Linked DNA regions of Homo sapiens: region 1 is linked to region 2. Evidence: promoter capture Hi-C in human tissues and cell types (Jung and others, 2019). All regions are on one chromosome and are shown on one strand. Each heading gives the region's core, a stretch centred on a gene start or on the middle of the fragment in contact. The rest is flanking DNA. Distances are from core to core; before and after follow the strand shown.

Evidence for each region. Contacts are between HindIII fragments. The study calls those that stand out against the background at their distance.
Region 1: the fragment with the promoter of C20orf141 here is called in contact with a fragment that was not itself captured in region 2 in 1 of the 25 tissues and cell types used here (mesendoderm cells).

What each region holds. Positions count from the first base shown.
Region 1 is chr20:2,812,239-2,816,711 of GRCh38, reverse strand. C20orf141 (chromosome 20 open reading frame 141) reads right to left here and starts at 1,725. Exons shown (of 3, transcript NM_001256538.2): 1 at 1,695-1,725; 2 at 1,268-1,560; 3 at 882-1,174. The coding sequence starts at 1,527. The coding sequence ends at 937. TMEM239 (transmembrane protein 239) reads right to left here and starts at 348. Exons shown (of 2, transcript NM_001167670.3): 1 at 297-348; 2 at 1-168. The coding sequence starts at 157. The HindIII fragment of the contact is 18,533 bases long and covers 1-4,473 here.
Region 2 is chr20:2,481,483-2,485,808 of GRCh38, reverse strand. It overlaps ZNF343 (zinc finger protein 343), which reads left to right. Exons shown (of 6, transcript NM_024325.6): 6 at 1,153-3,992. The coding sequence ends at 2,648. Among named protein-coding and RNA genes, the nearest start is that of SNRPB, 13 kb to the right of the region's middle. The HindIII fragment of the contact is 4,668 bases long and covers 1-3,992 here.

The DNA of each region.
Region 1 (4,473 bases), core at 476-2,975, 330 kb before region 2:
TCGAGGTGCTCCACCACTGGATCCAGCTCGGGGGCATGTGGCTCACCCACCAGCGCACCCAGCCATGCCTCGTGACCCAGGCTGACCAGGGCACTGCCTGCTGTGGCCCCTCGCCAGCCCCGATGGTATCTGTCTCCACTCGCGGCTGCTGCATCATGTCTGGTGCACCTGGGGAGAGGGCCAGGGTCTTGAAGATGCCTGGGACCTTGGGGGGGGGGGGCAGAGAGGGGGTGCAGGGGTCAGGAGGGCACCAGTGTGCGTGGGGTGGGGCTACAGAATTAGGGACTGGGACTTACCTCTGGGCAGTTACCTAAGTCATGTTGCTTCCTGCAGCGCCCAGGACGGCCTGGCAGGCAGATCCAAGTCCCCACTCTCATCTACCCCCACCCTCCCCAGAGGAGCCCCTTTGTGACCCGGGCTGGGGTGGGGTCCAGCCAAGAGAGGAGTCACTGTAGGGTGTGAGGCCCACCCAAGTCCCTCTGCACGGACCCTCCAGGCTGGCAGGGGAGCCTCGGAGCCCCGCAGATGTAGTTTCTCATGCTTTCTCATGGGAAGCCCTCCCTGGATCCCTGTCCCTTTCCTGCTTTCCCTGCTGGCTGATATCCACCCCTTTCCAAACTGCTCTCTCGCAAGTCTTTCTGTCTGGACCTTCATTCTCTAGAGCCACAGAGGAGGCCAGAGTGGCTGCCCCCAATCCACAGGCTCTGAGGTGGCTGCCACATTCTTCCTTGGGCTCCCTGGCTAGTATCCTACCTTCTCTTGCTGCCCAAAGACTCAGATCCAGGTATCTGATACCTATATTATAGGACTGTGAGGTTCAGGCTGGGAAGAAAGGGGTATCATCCCACCTGCCCAGCCAGGAAGGAGAAAAGGGGGCCTGATGAAGAAGGGTGGTCATTGTATATTTGAAGGACACTGAGTTGTGGGGAGGGGCTCTCAGGCCCAAGGATGGAGGCAGAAAGCCAGGCCAAGCAGGGTCAAGGGCATGCCACAGGCTCTCAGGAGCGGGCCCAGCCCCATGAGCAGCAGCAGCAGTGCGTCCTGGAGGCTAAGTTGTCCTGAGACTGTACCCATTTGCAGGAGTAGAGCCTCCTGCTGTCCAGGACCTTCACCGGCCCCCTGACTCTGGCCCCTGGTGAGAAGTTTGCGCTGTGGCAGAGTGTGACCTGCGGGCCTGTGGAGAGAGAGGGTGGTGACTGGGCTTAGGGAAGTTGTCCACTGGCCCGCCCGCCTACAATGCCCACCTGCCAGGCTGCTGCCCACTTACCTATGGAGCAGGTCAAAGGTGAGGAAGCTGACCAGAAGCAGCAGCAGGGCTGGGCCAGTGGTGGAAAAGACTGCCTGGATTGTCAGTCCTAGTGCCCCCAGCCATAGGACACTGTCCAGGAGCTGGGCCCAGCTAGGGCCCCAGGTGGATACAGGTGGACGCACTGGACTACCTGACCCCTCCCCAGCACCCAGGCCCCTTGGAGGAACTGGGATCGGATCCTCACGTGCTTCGGGTCTGGGTAAGCAGAGCCGGGTCATGGAGAGAGGTGGAGGTGACGGGAAGACCTAGTGCTGAAAAGGATTATAAGGGTGAGAGTAGGGGAAGGGGTAGGGCCCGGGCAGACAGAAGGGTGAGCTCAGAGTGGGGAATTAGGCTCCTGCAGAGTCTCCCCCTCCCCCATACCCACCCAGCAAACCCTCCTCACCTCCTCCCACTTTGGTCAGCATTCTGGGAGTGGGCACCCGGGGCATTGTGACCTGTTACCACGTGGGGCCGTGGGGTAGGGAGGGGGCTGCTGCTGCTGCTGCTCTGACCTCATAAGCAGCTGGTGGCCTAGGTGGGGCTTAGCTGGGAAGTCAGGGATTTCTGAGAACTAAGACTCATCCTCTTGCCTTTGCTGATTCTCTGCCCTAGGGCCCTCCCTTGGGGATCTGAGTTGTCAGGAAGGCATTCTAACCCCATTACTACTTGGGCATCTGTCCAAGGGAGCGAGGTCTGCTTTCTTCTTCCTGTGAGTTTGCAGAGCTGCAGGTCCAGGGCGAAGTCATTCAATATCTCTGTCCCCAGCTGTCTTCCCTGTGGGTCCTTCTAGGGGATTTTTCAGGCCTGAAGTTCCAGATTGCAGAGATGGGCTCTGCCAGGGGACTGCCTGAGGCTTCTGGGGCTGGGCTTCCGCATAACCTGCTAAATGGGGGTGAGAGAGGAGGGGGCTGTTCAGGTATTCTAAGCACTACAGTTTATAGGGGGTGTTATGCATACTGGGGTTCCAGTAATGAGGTAGAGGACATGAACTTAAGAGGACTATGACCTAGTAACCCCCTTATTAGAGGTTAAGGTTACAGTCTGAGAATGGAGTTAAGGAAAATGAACATATAATGAAGGGCTTAGTCACTTGGATTATCAGTATATCAGATTACACTGATCATCTGTAAATGGGTGGTGGCCATAGGGGTCCAGCACATCTCAGTTTAGTGACTTGAGAGGCAAGAGCGGAAATGTGTCATAATTAAGAGAACTTAATCTTTGCCCACATATCATACTTTGAAGGAAAACTGGTAGGGGTGGCAAAATGGGAGACAGTGGCCATACAGCCCCTAGGAGAGGAGGAGACAGAACAAGAATCAGGCTGCATATCCACCTCCAGCAGGCCTTGCCCAGAGACGAGGGTCACCAGCCCTAATGACCATGCACTGATCGCCCTTGGTCTGGCTGTTCTTGCTTATCCAGCAGCTGGGTTTTACGAGTAGATTTGTCCGTAATGGGATAGGGTATAACAGAAGATCCCAGAATTTTTTTTTTTTTGGCATTAAGTTCCAATTGTGCTTGTAAAGGAACATTAAGGTTTAAGATTGGCAATTCCCTGAGCCTGATCAATCCTGGATGCATCCACACAATTGCATTCCTGGACATACAGACCTGGGGAGCATGTCCTGATGAGTCCACCAAGATGAGGCTACTCCATATTGCAGGGCATGGGGGGATCGGAGAGTCTAAAGCTCCTTAAAGATTTACTATGCACCAGGTGCTCTGTATGCATGTATAGGAGAGTTCTGTCTGTGATTTTCTCAGAGTTTATTTTGTATTCAACAATCATTTATTTAAGTGCTTCCTATGTGCCAGGCACTGCACCAGATGGTGGGTGTATTAGGCCATTCTTGCGTTGCTATGAAGAAATACCTGAGACTGGGTAATTTATAAGAAAAGAGGCTTAATTGGCTTGCAGTTTTGCAGGCTGTACAGGAAGTAGGGTACCAGCATCTGCTTTTGGGGAGACCTCAGGAAACTTCCAATCATGGCAGAAGGCAAAGGGTGAAGAGCAAGGGAGAGAGTGGTGGTTAGGGGAGTTGCCACACACTTAAACAACCAGATCTTGAGAGAACTCACTCACTATTTCAAGGACAGCACCAAGCCATGAAATATCCACCCCCATGACCCAAACACCTCCCATCAGGCCCTACCTCCAACATTGGGATTTGAGATTTCAACTTGAGATTTGGACAAATATTCAGACTATATCAATGGGTCATAATTTCTAAAAGTAGAGCCTGAGATGGGGATACTTGTACACATGGTTTATTGAGGGAGTGCTCTGAGGAGGAAAACCTTTCTTTCTATTTTTTTTTTTTTTTTTTTTTGAGACAGAGTTTCGCTCTTGTTGCCCAGGCTGGAGTGCAATGGCGCCATCTTGGCTCACTGCAACCTCCGCCTCCCGGGTTTAAGTGATTCTCCTGCTTCAGCCTCCCAAGTAACTGAGATTACAGGCACCCACCACCACACCCAGCTAATTTTTGTATTTTTAGTAGAGACAGGGTTTCACCATGTCGGCCAGGCTGGTCTCAAACTCCTGACCTCAGGTGATGTGACCGCCTCAGCCTCCCAAAGTGCTGGGATTACAGGTGTGAGCCACCCTGCCCGACCAGAAGGGAAAGATTTTTAAAAATCAAGAGACTCTTCAGAATTGAAGGACATGATTCTCTAGACCATAACTTTCCACCAATTCACAGCCCAATACATGAAACAGGGCAGCTAACATCAAGGCATATAATGAAATTCACATTAGCAGGGATAAAAAGACAATCCTAAGAGCTTCCACCAAATAAAAACATCACATACATCGGATCTGAAGCAAGAATGGTATCACACTTCTAAACACCAATACTGGTAGCTAGAAGACAATAAATGCCCTCAAAATGATGTCTAATATAGAAATGTATAGGTCTGAATGATTATTAATTGGGAGGGTAGAATAATGACATTTCAATCATACAAGGTCTCAGAAATTTGACCTTGCATATACCCTTTCTTAGAAAGCTACTGGAGGATGTGCTTCAGCAAAACAAAGAATTAAACTAAGAAAGAGAGCAATATGGCATTCAATAAATGAGATTAAGCACAGAAAAGGGACGATGAGAAAGGCCTGGGATGTCAACTATACCCCCGGGTAAAGAAAGTAACCAACCCAGCCTGAAATCAGAAGATGTGCT
Region 2 (4,326 bases), core at 409-2,908:
CTGGCAGTCCAGCAGTTCCAGCACTGGTCGGTGCCTTGTCAGAGCAACCAAAGGGAAAACACATTGTCAAAAACTAAAACAAAGACCACAAAAGGTCAAAAAATCAAATGGCACAAATCATTTACTTAACAGGAAAGGAGACACAGCAGTGAAGAAATTCACTGTATAGTTTGGCAAGGGGGAAAAATAAAAGGTTTTACTGTTAGGGAGCAGTTTCATGATGGTTATGCTAATTAAGGTTTGAAAACTAGCATTCCAGATAGGATAGGATGAGTTTTTAAGGACAGATACAGTTGATTATAAAGATTCCAGTGTTCATTAGTTAGGCAGAAGTCTTCAGTTAGGCCCAGTAGGGTCTGGGGCCAAGTACGTGGTCATTTCTCAGCATCAGTTGGATAGATCATGTTGTGATGAAATGCAACATCTAGTTTTGATATTTTGTAGGCAGGTGCTGCTGTAAATGAAAAGTTTTTCTTTTTACTGATTTATGAAAAGTGGAAAGAAAGGCAGATTTTGTTGTTTTGGCTTGGTGCCAGAATCCTAAAATCATGGACCATGTCTTTCTTGTTCATTACTGAATTCATAATACTTAGTAGAGAACCTAGTACTTTGGCATTTTCTAATAAGTCTTTGTTTACAGGTGGGCAGCCTGAAATTTATATTTGTTTTATATACAATAATTTCTTTAACCAGTATTCCATACACTTTCTCCTACATTCGGAAGCCCTCCAGAATGAGGGACTTTTTATGTCTATCAGACCCTTTTTTATATAATAAGAAAAGTCATGAAGGAGATTTCCACATGTGTCATAGAGACCACTATCTCCAAGCAGAACAAAGAGCTGTGGACAGTATATACCAATGTGAATGTCTATGGCTTAGGAGAAGGCTAACTATGATTGAAGCTGTTTACAGAGCAGAATACTCACTTGAGAGGTTCCTGGTTTCTCAAGATATTTTTGTTATGGATTTTCTGGATTGCAATAGAAAATGTGATGGAATGTAAAGGAATCATTGTTCAGAAGCAAATTGTGTTATACTTATATTATCAATTATAGGCATGGCAGTAAAACATTCTCTGTCCTAAGACAAGGCAGAACAACTCAGCAGCCCTACTTATGGCTACTCTAACAGAAAACTTTCATTCTTCAGCAGAACCAAAGCCAGAAATCTACACTTGTTCCTCCTGCCTTCTGGCCTTCTCCTGTCAGCAGTTCCTCAGTCAACATGTACTTCAGATCTTCCTGGGCTTATGTGCAGAAAATCACTTCCATCCAGGGAATTCTAGCCCAGGGCATTGGAAACAGCAGGGGCAGCAGTATTCCCATGTAAGCTGTTGGTTTGAAAATGCAGAAGGTCAGGAGAGAGGAGGTGGCTCCAAACCCTGGTCTGCAAGGACAGAGGAGAGAGAAACCTCAAGGGCATTCCCCAGCCCACTCCAAAGACAGTCAGCAAGTCCTAGAAAAGGCAACATGGTGGTAGAAACAGAGCCCAGCTCAGCCCAAAGACCAAACCCTGTGCAGCTAGACAAAGGCTTGAAGGAATTAGAAACCTTGAGATTTGGAGCAATCAACTGTAGAGAGTATGAACCGGACCATAACCTGGAATCAAACTTTATTACAAACCCGAGGACCCTCTTAGGGAAGAAGCCCTACATTTGCAGTGATTGTGGGCGAAGCTTTAAAGATAGATCAACCCTCATCAGACACCATCGTATACACTCGATGGAGAAGCCTTATGTGTGCAGTGAGTGCGGGCGAGGTTTTAGCCAGAAGTCCAACCTCAGCAGACACCAGAGAACACATTCAGAAGAGAAGCCTTATTTGTGCAGGGAGTGTGGGCAAAGCTTTAGAAGTAAGTCCATCCTCAATAGACATCAGTGGACTCACTCAGAGGAGAAGCCCTATGTTTGCAGCGAGTGTGGGCGAGGCTTTAGCGAGAAGTCATCCTTCATCAGACACCAGAGGACACACTCCGGTGAGAAACCCTATGTGTGCCTGGAGTGTGGACGAAGCTTTTGTGATAAGTCAACCCTCAGAAAACACCAGAGGATACACTCAGGGGAGAAGCCTTATGTTTGCAGGGAGTGTGGGCGAGGCTTTAGCCAGAACTCAGATCTCATCAAACACCAGAGGACACACTTGGATGAGAAGCCTTATGTTTGCAGGGAGTGTGGGCGAGGCTTTTGTGACAAGTCAACCCTCATCATACACGAGCGGACGCACTCTGGAGAGAAGCCTTATGTGTGTGGTGAGTGTGGCCGAGGCTTTAGTCGGAAATCACTCCTCCTTGTCCACCAGAGGACACACTCAGGGGAGAAGCATTATGTCTGCAGGGAGTGTAGGCGAGGTTTTAGCCAGAAGTCAAATCTCATCAGACACCAGAGGACGCACTCAAATGAGAAGCCTTATATTTGCAGGGAATGTGGGCGAGGCTTTTGTGACAAGTCAACCCTCATTGTACATGAGAGGACACACTCAGGAGAGAAGCCTTACGTGTGCAGTGAGTGTGGCCGAGGCTTTAGCCGGAAATCACTCCTCCTTGTCCACCAGAGGACACACTCAGGGGAGAAGCATTATGTTTGTAGGGAGTGTGGGCGAGGCTTTAGTCATAAGTCAAATCTCATCAGACACCAGAGGACACACTGACGGGAGAAACCTGTGTATGCAGGGGTCATGAACAAGACCTGAGTGACCAGTCAAGCCTCATGTTACCCCAGAGAGACACATGGGGAGTAGACCCTGTGTACACAGATTGTGAGTGAAGTTCCAGAGATGTGTCAGCCCTTATCAGGCATGGGAGGGACACGTTCAGGAGAGGAGCCTTATGAGTATAGAGTACGGGCAACTGTAGCCATCAGTCAGCCTTGAGCATGCACAAAAGGACACACTTAGGAGAGAAGTTTATGTGTAGGGACTGTGGGAAGGCTTTAGCAATAATCAACATTTACCAGACATCCAATGACAGCCTCAGGGGAAAGCACCCTTGTCTGGGGAGTGTTGGGGAGCATCAGTAAAAGAATGGACACTCAGGCACAGAGTGGCCCTCAGGAAGGAGGTCTTTGTTTGTAGGATGTATGGGCAAAGCTTTTGTGATCACACACCACAGGGAGAATCTGCATGTGGGGACACTGTGGAGCTCTGCCCAGATGACCTTTTCAGGGGTAACACCCCAGCTGCTTGAGAGAACAGTGTTGCTGCTGGCAGAGATGCATTCCAGAGATGCACTCCGCTCTGGAACTCACTCTCAGCCACAGGGAGCTGCATGCACCACAGGGGCAATGCACCTTTGCAGGGGTACCTTCTGGCCCCAACCCTTGACTCAACGGGGACAACTCCAGAAGGTCATTCCAGATCCAGAGATCCCCATCGAACTGAAGGATCACTGGGTTGCAGACACATTGCAGGTCAGCTTCTTCCTCTGCCCAGTCCTGCCCTCACTCCCCAGTGAATCCTCAATTTTCTGTCTCGTTGTCTGTCCAGATAATTGATTCTAAGACATGTTAGGTATATAAGGAGTGTAGATAAGGCTTCAGCCATGAGTCACCCCGCAGTAAGCCCCAGAGTATATTGAATAGAAATTCTGCATGTGTGGGGAGAATGGACAAGGACTTAGGAAAAAGTCCTCATCAAAGAACAGCTTTTTTGGGACAAGCTTTACATGGGTGGGGAGGGAAAATGTGAAACACATTAGCAATAAGTTAAACCTCATCTTGTACTAAAGGAGGACACACTCAGGGAGAAGACCTCTGTGGGCAGGGCTTGTGGGTGGAGCTTCATCCCGATGTCACTCCTCAACTGACTTAGGAGGACAGTCTTGCTACCCCAAGTCACTACCTCACTCACCTCTGAGGGATTTTCAGGAAATGTCTTGACTCCCCCATGTACTCTGTATGTGAGCGAAGATGGCAGTAACTGTTAAATAAGCATTCTTTTCTACTTCTTGGAATCAGATGAAATAAAAAAGCAGGCTTTATTTAAGTAATCAAAAAATGATCAACTTGTTTTATTTTCATATACCAGTTCTTTCCCGTGTTTTCTTATCCCTTTGTTTTAGTTCAAAATTTCTTCAATAAGTTCAGGCTGTGTAGCTTGGCCACTCATCTGACTGAAAGGGTGCAAGGAATTCAAATTCACAGTCAGGGTTTCCTGCATAAATTCAACCCTTGAGAATCAATCTAATAGATTTTTTTGGAGAATTTGATCCTTTTCATGTGGAGGAGTGATTAGGTTCTAGAGACAGGCCAGTTGCAGGGAGGGGATTTTCCAGGTCTCCAGGGCTGGGCTGCCTCTTCTCCAGACTGATCACTTTCTTCAGCTTCTGTGA